2 separate regions of the Homo sapiens genome follow, and region 1 is linked to region 2. Evidence: promoter capture Hi-C in human tissues and cell types (Jung and others, 2019). All regions are on one chromosome and are shown on one strand. Each heading gives the region's core, a stretch centred on a gene start or on the middle of the fragment in contact. The rest is flanking DNA. Distances are from core to core; before and after follow the strand shown.

Evidence for each region. Contacts are between HindIII fragments. The study calls those that stand out against the background at their distance.
Region 1: a fragment that was not itself captured here is called in contact with the fragment with the promoter of CNTLN in region 2 in 4 of the 25 tissues and cell types used here (aorta, lymphoblastoid cells, pancreas and 1 more).

The regions. Positions count from the first base shown.
Region 1 is chr9:17,175,689-17,181,814 of GRCh38, reverse strand. All of the region lies in intron 2 of CNTLN (centlein), which reads right to left. Among named protein-coding and RNA genes, the nearest start is that of CNTLN, 44 kb to the right of the region's middle. The HindIII fragment of the contact is 6,020 bases long and covers 405-6,126 here.
Region 2 is chr9:17,133,582-17,138,917 of GRCh38, reverse strand. It overlaps CNTLN (centlein), which reads right to left and starts at 3,878. Exons shown (of 26, transcript NM_017738.4): 1 at 3,493-3,878. The coding sequence starts at 3,852. RefSeq lists an enhancer at 3,034-3,597. The HindIII fragment of the contact is 19,584 bases long and covers 1-5,336 here.

The DNA of each region.
Region 1 (6,126 bases), core at 2,165-4,664, 43 kb before region 2:
AAAGGGTGAGAATACACCCATCCAGCAATAAAAAAGAGCATCATATTCCTCAGGTGTCTTCAGAGACCAGAGGGGAACCTAAACTTCTAAACTCTTCCGGCAGTAAATAGGAGGGGCTAACTCCTCCTCTGATAGAATGTCATCAGTGAAAGCCAGAGAAAATAGAAGGTTTAAATAAGATACAGAGTTCATAATGTAATACCCAAAGCATCCAGATTCAATCAGAAAATCATTTGTTATACCAAGAACCAGGAATATCTTGAATTGTTAACAAATCCACAGATGCCAACACCAAGATGACAGAGATGTCAGAATTATGTGACAACAATTTCAAAACAGCCATAATGAAAATGCTTCAATGAGCAGTTATGAAGGTAAAAGAAACAAATTGGAAGCCTCAGCAAAGAAACAGAAAGTCTAAGCAAAGAGACAGAAGATACAACGAAAAAACAAATACAAATTTTATGCCTGAAAAGTACAAAACCCAACTCAATAGATGGGCTCAACAGCCAACTGGAGAGGACAGGAAAGAATCAGTGAAAAGCAAAAGAGAACAACAGAATTTACCAAATATGAACAACATGGAAAATAGACAAAACGAACACCACCTCAGAGGCCTGTCAAAGATCTAATATTTACAACACCTGAGCCTAGGTAGAAGAGAAAGAAGGCAGGTCAATAAATATACAAAGAAACAGTGACTCAAAATTTATCAAGTTTGGCAAAAGACATAATCATACAGATTCATGAAGCTGAACAAACCCGAACACAATAATCTCAAATAAATCTATACCAAGTCATATCATACGAAAACTTCCAAAATCTAAAAACTAAGAAAAAATCTTGAAGATAGTGACACAGAAATACCATTATTACCTAAAAACAATGATTCAGATGACAGCAGATTTCTTGCTGGAAACCACCAAAACCAGAAGGAAGGGGCATGGCATTTTTCAAATACCGAAAGAAAAGAAAAGAATCAACGCACAATTCTATAATATAACCAGTGAAAATAATTTTTAGGAATTAAAGGAAATCAAGACATTCTTAAAAAATAGGAGGGGGGAAATCTAGGAATTGGTTGTCATGAGACCAAACAAAAAAGTATAGCTAAAGTAAGTTTTCTAAATAGAAAAGAAATTTTAAATGGAGGGATCCTGGAACATCAAGAAGGAAGAAGGAAAAGAGTAAAGGCAAAAATCTGCATAAATACAACAGACTTTCCTTGTCTTCTTCAGTTTTCTAAATTAGGTTTGATGGCTGAAACAAAAAGTATAATAATATCTTATGTGGTTCTAAATGTGGGTCAAAAAATATTCATGGCAACTATATTATATAGGGGAAAGAAAAGGAAAATAGAGAGAAAGGTTTCTATTATAAATGTCACTTAAAGTAGTAAAATATTGATACCAGTACACTGTGCTAAGTTATGTATATATAATATAATATAATATAATATAATATAATAATTAGAGCAACCACTAAAGATATATACAAAGAGATACCACCAAAACCAATACAGATAAATCAAAATGAAATTCTAAAATGCGTTCCAATAGCCAACAGGAAGGCAGGAAAAAAAAAAAAACAGAGATAGCAAACAGAAAAAAAAGCAAAATGACACACGTAAATGCTAACATATCAATAATCAAGCTGAATGTAAATAATCTAAAATATACAAATCAAAAGTGCTCAACAGAGTAGATTTTAAAATATGATGCAACTATATAGTAACTAAAAGAAACTCATTTCAAATATGGCAATATAGGTAAGTTGAAAGTAAAAGGAAGGAAAAAAGATATGTAATCATTCTTCAAAAGAAAGAAGAGTGGTTATATTAACATTGAATAAAGTGTACTTCAGAGCAAAGAAAATTACTAGGGAAAGTAAGGGACATTATACAATGATAAAAGAATCTACCAAGAAGACGTAGTGATCCTAAATGTGTACGTACCAACTTTAGACTTTAGAGCTCAAAATAATATACAGAAAAAAAACTGATAGAACTGAAAAGAGTAATAGATAAATCAATAATTATGTTTGGCAACTTCAAAATGCCTCTCTCAACAATGTATAGAACTAGCCAGTGAATTATCAAAGGTACAGAAGAGCTCAGCAACAAAATCAACCTATAGGATCTAATCAATATTTATGGAACAATCCACCAACATCAGCAAAATATATATTATTTTCAAATGCCCATAGATTTATACAAAGATAAACCATACTTTGGGCCACAAAACAAACCTTGTCAAATTTAAAGAATTTAAATCACAGAGTACATTCTCTGACCATATGAAATCAAACTAAAAATCTGGCAAAGGAAAAATCGCCAAACACTTGAAAATTAAATAACACATTTCTACATAATCCTTGGTCATACAGAGAGTCTCACAGGAAAGTTAAAAATACATAGAACTGAATAAAAATAAAAAGGCAGCATATCAAAATATGGGGGATGAAGTTAAAGCAGCTGAGAGGAAAATTTATAAAATTAAAGGTGTACGTTACAAAACAGGAAAAATCTCAAATCAATAATCTACACTTCTTCTTTTTTTTTTTTTTTTTTTTGAGACGGAGTCTCGCTCTGTCGCCCAGGCTGGAGTGCAGTGGCGGGATCTCGGCTCACTGCAAGCTCCGCCTCCCGGGTTCACGCCATTCTCCTGCCTCAGCCTCCCAAGTAGCTGGGACTACAGGCGCCCGCCACTACGCCCGGCTAATTTTTTGTATTTTTAGTAGAGACGGGGTTTCACCGTTTTAGCCGGGATGGTCTCGATCTCCTGACCTCGTGATCCGCCCGCCTCGGCCTCCCAAAGTGCTGGGATTACAGGCGTGAGCCACCGCGCCCGGCCAATAATCTACACTTCTGAGAGGTGACAGCGTGCTGGCAGCTCTCACAGCCCTCCCTCGCTCTCGGCGCCTCCTCGGCCTTGGCGCCCACTCTGGCCACGCTTCAGGAGCCCTTCAGCCCACCGCTGCACTGTGGGAGCCCTTGCTGGGCTGGCCAAGGCCAGAGCTGACTCCCTCAGCTTGAAGGCAGGTGTGGAGGGAGAGACGCTGGCAGGAACTGGGGCTGCCCGCAACCCTTGTGGGCCAGCGTGAATTCCGGGTGGGTGTGGGCTCGGTGGTCCCCGCACTTGGAGCGGCCGGCCAGCCGGCAGGCCCCGGGCAGTGAGGGGCTTAGCACCTGGGCCAGCAGCTGCTGTGCTCGATTTCTCACCGGGCCTTAGCTGCCTCCCTGTGGGGCAGGGCTCCAGACCTGCAATTCGCCATGCCTGAGTCCCCCATGCACCCCCCGCCCCCGCCCTGCTGTGGGATCCCGGGCAGCCCGAGCCTCCCTAACCAGCACCACTCCCTATTCCAGGGCGCCCAGTCCCATCTACCGCCCAAGGGCTGAGGAGTGCGGGCACAGGGCACGGGACTAGCAGGCAGCTCCACCTGCGGCCCGGGTGCGGGATCCACTGGGTGAAGCCAGCTGGGCTCCTGAGTCTGGTGGGGAATTGGAGAACCTTTATGTCTAGCTAAGGGATTGTAAATATACCAATCAGCACTCTGAATCTAGCTCAAGGTTTGTAAACATACCAATCAGCACCCTGTGTCTAGCTCAGTGCTTGTGAATGCACCAATCGACACTCCGTATCTAGTTAATCTGGTGGGAACTGGGAGAACCTTTATGTCTAGCTAAGATATTGTAAATACACCAATCAGCACTCTGTATCTAGCTCAAGGTTTGTAAACACACCAATCAGCACCCTGTGTGTAGCTCAGGGTTTGTGAATGCACCAATCAACACTCTATATCTAGCTAATCTAGTGGGGATGTGGAGAACTTTTGTGTCTAGCTCAGGGATTGTAAATGCACCAATCAGCACCCTGTCAAAATGGACCAATCAGCAGGATGTGGGTGGGGCCAGATAAGAGAATAAAAGCACCGCTGCCTGAGCCAGCAGTGGCAACCCATTCAGGTCCCCTTCCATACTGTGGAAGCTTTGTTCTTTCGCTCTTTGCAATAAATCTCGCTGCTGCTCACTCTTTGGGTCCACACTGCCTTTATGAGCTGTAACACTCACCGCGAAGGTCTGCAGCTTCAGTCCTGAAGCCATCGAGACCACAAACCCACTGGGAGGAACGAACAACTCCGGATGTGCTGCCTTAAGAGCTGTAACACTCACCGCAAAGGTCTGCAGCTTCACTCCTGAGCCAGTGAGACCACGAACCCACCAGAAGGAAGAAACTCCGAACATATCCGACCATCAGAAGGAACAAACTTCGGACACACCGCCTTTAAGAACTGTGACACTCACCACAAGGGTCCGCAGCTTCTTTGTTGAAGTCAGTGAGACGAAGAACCCACCAATTCCGGACACATTTCCACTTCAAGAAACTGAAAATAATTTTTTTTTTTTTGAGACAGAGTCTTGTTCTGTCGCCCAGGCTGGAGTGCAGTGGCACAATCTCAGCTCACTGCAAGCTCCGCCTCCCGGGTTCACGCCATTCTCCTACCTCAGCCTCCAGAGCAGCTGGGACTACAGGTGCCTGCCACCACGCCAGGCTAATTTTTTGTATTTTTAGTAGAGACGGGGTTTCACCATGTTAGCCAAGATAGTCTCGGTCTCCTGACCTCGTGATCTGCCTGCCTCAGCCTCCCAAAGTGCTGGGATTACAGGCGTGAGCCACCGCGCCCAGCCAAGAAACTGAAAATTATTGACAGAGATAACAACAAAAAGGAAATAATAAAAAGCAGAAATCAACATAATAGAAAACAGAAAAATAATAGAGAAAATCAATGAAACTAAGAACTTTTTGGAAGTGCAATACTTTGCAAAAACTTCTAGCAGACTGACAAGGGAAAAAAATAGGGAAAAGACACATCTGTTATCAATATCAAGAAACAGGATTATCAACAGACACTGCAGACATAAAACCATAACAAGAAAAAACTGTGAACAACGCTATACACATAAATTTGACAACTTAGAAAAACCAGTTCCTCAAGATGCACAAACTACCACACTTCACCAACATGAAATAGATAACTGAACAATCCTATAACTATTAAGGAAAGCGAATTGGCAATTTGGAAACTCCCAGAAAAGAACCCTCCAGGTTCAGATAATTTACTAAAGAATTCCACCAAATATTTGAAGAAGAATAACATCAACTCTACACAATTTGTTCCAGAAAACAGAAGAGAAAGCACCACTTCCTGATTCATTTTATGAAGCTACTTATCTCTGATATAAAAACCAAAGATAGTACAATAAAAGAAAGCTATACACCAATATCCCTCATGATTAGAGATGCAATCAATCCTTAACAAAACATTAGCAAATAGTATTTAGCAATGTATAATTGTACTCCACGACCAAGTGAAATTTATTCCAGTAGGCAAAGCTGGTTCAGTATTCAAAAATAAATCCATGTATTCCACCATATCAACAGTCTGAAGAAGAAAAATCTCCTGGTCATATCAAGTGATGCAGTACAAGCATTTCATGGAATCAAATGCCCATTCATGATAAAAAAAAAATTATCAGCAATCTAGGAACAGAAAATTTCCTCAACTTGATAAAAAAAAAATTTACAAAAAACTTGCAGGGACCATTTAGTGAAAGACTGATTTCTCTCTAAAATAGGAGCAGGGCAATGATGGCCACTCTCACCACTCTTACTCAACATAGTACTGGAAAATATAGCCAACACAATAAGGGAAAATAAAATAAAATAAAAGGCACACATATCAGAAAGGAAGAAATAAAACTCCACTTGCTTACAATTACAATAGATAATTACAATAGATAATTAACATGATTATGTAGAAAAATCAAGGGATCATTAAAAAAATAAAATCTTAGAAATAATAAGTGCACACGGAAATCCTTATTCTATATATTAGTAATGCAAACACGGACACTAAACATAAAAATACAGTATCATTTACCATCATACCAAAAAGTTTAAATACATAGGTGTAAATCTAACAATATATAGGACTTGCATGCTGAAAACTACAAAATGGTAGTGAAAGCAATCAAAGAAGATCTAAATAAATGGAGAGACATCTTATGTCCATGGATTAGGAGTCAACAATTCTCCCCCAAATTGATATCTAGGTTCAACTCAAAAC
Region 2 (5,336 bases), core at 2,629-5,128:
TTGGTTTTGTCTTTCATCAACTGACCTGGAAATAGATACCATCTATACAAACACAGACACCCCAAATTGCCATTTTTCACTGGGTACCTAGTCCCACAAAAAATAATTTAGTGTTGGCAATATATTAAGCCCTCAATTGACCTCTACTGGAGGAATGAACTCAACAAACACTTGAAACTGTTTCCTAAATCTAAACAAATATTTGGTCATCAGAGCTCAGGGCAAAGGATGTCAAGAGTTTACTTACAAAATATGGCACCAGGTAGCCACTTAGTAAATTATTAGCATGAAAAATAATTTCACAAAAAGACTCGCCAAGTAGAATACAGCTACAAACAACTGGTGGAATTACACAGTAAGTTCTCAAATTTGTTTTTCTTTGTGAATAAATGAAGTTTTAACACATCTAAATTTCTAACATAAAATATAACTGGCTGACTTCTCTGATCACATACAATTCCAACATCGCCTGCTTCAAAAGTTGGTTTCATCATTAAAGTGGATGAGCTTTAATGATGAAACTAATTTCATATTTCATTTAAATACCCTAATTTTTTTCCTAAAACTGGCTTATAGGTTTAGTCAATATTTTTGCCTGATACCAAAAAATAAGCTTTATAAATGCTATATAAACATATTACTCTTTCTATGTAAACATAACACTTTTTTCTCATCTCACTCTATAAATGGTGATAAATGTACAAATACACATGCCCCAGCATCCTTTATCACAAACAGAACACATTCTTGAAATATATAATCAAAATTAAAAGTGTAGTGGAGTTAGGTTCTAAATTAGTGAAATAGGGCATTAAATGCCATGGATGCAAAATTACCCTTTGGAACACCCTTGAAAAATTCCTTAGGAAAAAGCTACATTTGGAAGCTTACCTACTACCCTCAGTAAGTCCAATACAGATAGCTTTTCTTCCCTCATTGAAATTAATCACTTTTTCTTCATATAAGCATTATTTATAGTTCAGTTGCTAATCAGGGGGCCATATTTTTTTAAAGTTTAATTAGATAATACAATCACTTAGAGTGGGATGAGATGCTGATATTAAGAGAAACATTTGATTGCTTTCTATTACATGCTTATTCTGAGGCATTCCAATGATGTAGAATGGTATGGGGAATTACTCAAACTTCACCAAGCACACATCACTGAATTCCCATAAGTTGAATGTGAAAGCAAAACAAATTAAATGAAGCTACTACTTATGACCATGGACTAATTAGCAGTGTTCTTTTTCCTAAACTGTATGTTTCAAGCCTTGTTGGGTTCTGAAATTAATTTAGATCTGGACAGCATTTTTTAAAGGAATAGAACTGAAAAAATATCAGCCCACACAGTATTAGGGCATGTATTCTTTCTGAAAATATATGTTTGTATATGTGTGTACTTACTAGATTGAGATACAAAATTTTACTTCGAGTTGTAATTTTCAGCAGTTTTAATGCTATGTATTCTTGGGTACTGTGATCTCTAGCTGAATAAATAAGCGGGAGAGTATACTTTAAAAGATATAAAAGTGAATATTTAATCACCTAAATGCTTTTTACAAAACAATTGGGAGTTCAATTACTATTTTTCCCCAAGATTCCCGAAGAGCAGGAGTCTGATTTGACTAAGATTTTTATGGTGCGGGATACTGCCTACAATTATATAAGAGTATTAATATTACAAAATCTAAGAGATCATCATTCTAGACTATTATGACCATCTCTGTATTCTTACATTTGCCAAGAGTATGTCAATCATTTTCCTAGTCTATATATGTCCGAGGTCACAAAAGCCAACACCATGTTTGGAGCCACATTTTTAAAGAATGTAAGTATTTGTGGGAAGAGGTTCATCAGGCTGTTTCCAATAGACTGACTTCCTTAACCAAGTCGGTCATAAAAAAGTATCTTAGCTCTTTAGCCAGCTAAAGGCCTAACTATGTGGGGAGGCAGAAGTGGGAGGAAAGAGTGCGGAAAATATGCCAAAGAGTGTCTTAGATTAGGACTCAGAGTATCAAAGGCCTTTATCATGGGTTCACATCTTAAAACTCCCCAAAGGGTGAGGTCTGCAGATGACAAATGCTTCAATTCATTGTTGTCATTTATTTATCCCTTTGCTCCTTATCCAACGAAGAACAGAAAAATGGTAAAACGAAAAGAGGGCACCATATTAAATGTCCCAACCTTGTTTAACCAAAGGCACATTCAATTTGAAGATGGTCCCATTTTTACACCCTTCACTCAGTCAGCAAGGACCTATAAAATGGGCAAAAGAATCCAACAGAACAAACTATGAGAGAATGAATTTCTGTAATCCCAGCACTTTGGAAGGCCAAGGCTGGCGGACCACGAGGTCAGGAGATCGAGACTGTCCTGGCTAACACGGTGAAACCCCATCTCTACTAAAAATACAAAAAATTAGCCAGGCGTGGTGGCGGACACCTGTAGTCCCAGCTATTCGGGAGGCTGAGGCTGGAGAATGGCGTGAACCCGGGAGGCGGAGCTTGCAGTGAGCTGAGACTGCACCACTGCACTCCAGCCTGGGCGACAGAGAATGAATTTCATGAACTGTTTTATTAAACTGATGATACTGTTCACAAAGTTACTTTGATGTTCAGCAGCTCCTAATTGGTTTCTAAGTTGAAGACAGAGTGACTTAAAGATCTACTGTTCAGTGAGTTTCCCACATCCAATCTCCCAACCCTATCTAAAGGTTCTGGTAAAATCAAAAGAGATGATGGTAAGGATGCAAAACTAAAGGAAAATTCAATCTCTTTGAACATGAGTATAGTCAAGTCCATCCTTACAAAAACTCTACAAACAGGAAAGTAATTTTAATGCAATTGATTTAGCAAATGTTTTTCACTGGCAAGATCACATGAAAATGTGATTTCTCACTCAAGGACCGCGGAATTACCATAGCTGGTTAATAAACAAGTACCAAGCATCATCTATTGTTAAGTTCCCGGCTCTGAGACTTTCTAAACGTTACTCGTCTGTGTTTACAACTTAAGTTTGACTGGGTAAAAACAAAGCCAAGTGTGGGTTTGAAATTTTAAAAACAGGCTCCTTCATCGATGGATTTTACTCTAACCGAAGTGTTTACACTTTCCTGTTCATTTCAACTAGTGGACTGCATGTCACTCCTGGGCCCCCGGCAGGTATCAGCTACCGTCACCACCAAGAACTTGGGCTTGGGGGGGAAGCGGAGAGGATGCGACTGCGAGTATCCAAGTGACCAAAACCAAACCCGGGCGCGGAGGCGAAGCCTGTCTGGCCGCAGTTCGGAAAGGGGCAGGGGCCCGGGTTTGGGGAGCCGGGCGCAGCCGCGTCCCTCCAGCCCCCGGCCGCGAGCGAAGCAGGGTGTGCATCTGCCAGGGAGCGTCGCTGGGCGGGGTAGGTCCCAAGGCAGAGGGAGAAAGGCGCGCCTCCCCACGGGTCCCGGCCCCGCTGTGGTGGGGAAAGGGGGACTGCGAGACTCCTCGATACCTGACACAGGGCCAACTCCTCCTTTAGGCTGCTCAGCTCTTCCTCCAGCAGCTGCGTCCGGGTCACCATCGCCTCCTCTACCGAGATGCCCTCTAGCCGTCTGGACCCCATGGGCGCGCTGAGGAGGGGAGCATGAGCCGGAGCTGCCCCCCCAGGCCCTCGCCGGCCCCCTGACCCTTCTTCACCCACCCAGATTTTATCACTTTCGTCCGCGACCACCTCCCGCGCTGCGCCGGCAAAACCCGAGGCCTCGCTGCGCATTGCGTGTACTTCAGCTCCCCGCCCAACACGTGGGGACCTGGGGCCCAGCTGTCGCGCTGGGGGCGAAGGGTGCGGTGAGGGAGGCGAACGCGCCGCCATGGCTGCGGCTGCTAACGGGTCAAGTTCCCTGTTGGAAACTCCACCTCCCTTTCCCCAACCCGGCGAGCCCGGAACGCCGAACCGCGCATGCGCGAGGCTTTTCCCGCCTTGGCCCGCGGTGTCCCGTGTTCTCTGGTCCTGGCCGGCTTCCCGCGGGCAATGCGCCCAGCGCGAGCCTTGGGGTACGCACGCGCCGTGGCCCGAAAGGGTAAGGCCGGTCCGCCGGGCAGGCCATCCCAGCGTCCTGTGCCTGAGTCCTTGGCCAGGATCGCCTGGATTTCCCGCCCACCTAAAGCCCTGCCTGCCACTTACATCCCACCTCTTAAAGCCTTCCTTGACAAGCCCCCAGCCCCAAATGATCCTTAACTGTGAAATCCCTCTCCTTCAAGGCCCCTGCCAACTCGTGTGACACGTTTCATTGACCGCCCTGGAGTGTCAGTTACACGGCTAATCTCCCCAGCCCTGTTGTAAGCTCCTTGAGGATCAAGGAATACGTTTTACACTTAAGTGTTTTCTTCACACCCCTTGGCAAAACTGCTTTAGTACAGCTGACATCCAGCTGACTAATGTCAAGGAGATGTGGAAAGCCTTGTGCTGATCTGGGACTATCAAGCAGGTTTCCAACTTGAATGATGATCCTTTGTACACCCTTTGTCTTTTGTTTTGCAGGAGTCATGATTTCCTTTGAGTTTTTATGTCAGCTTCTTTATGCGTTGGCTGGATATCAGAGGAAGTGTAGCCCACATTGCTGAACAGTTTGGGTCCTTGGAGCAGTTTGAAATCAGTAATTTGGAGCGTGGATGAAGAAACAAGACCTACTTTATCTTTTGTTCTCTTTTTTTTCTTTTTCTTCTGGCTTTCTTTATAAACTTCAAATAGGTAGTAATCGTATCTTTCTTTGCCCTTCAAATACTTTGTTACTATTGATAAGATTAATGAGATGCATATTGAGCTGGCACCAGAACATCCCTGAAAGTTAGAACTGCCCTCTTCTTCAGAAAGGGTTCCAGAATACTTGGGGAAAGCTGAGATGGGGGTTGAGAGCAGAAGTAGAGAGATGACCACTTTACTGTTAACTTCATTTAACCAAAATATCACCATCTCTGCATGAGAATCTAGTCAGGATGCCAAAAGACACCCTCCCAATTAGAATCCTGCCAAGGCAACCAAGATAAGTGGACTTCTTTCAAACTGAAGGTGAATTCCTCACAAAAACTTATTAAAGAGTACATTAGAAAAAGTATGTTTATAAGCCTGTCTTAGAACTAGCTAACCTACTGAACATTTACCATATGCTGAGTCCAGTGCTAAGCACTTTTCATATATGAACTCACTTAATACATATGTCACCTTCAATTAGATTATTATATATCTCCATTTTTACTAGTGAGGAAACAGACTTGCAAGGTTACTGTAACTTCTCTGAAGTGCCATGTCTGGTATCAGAAAAGCTAGGCTTTGAATTCACTGAATTCCACTTAACT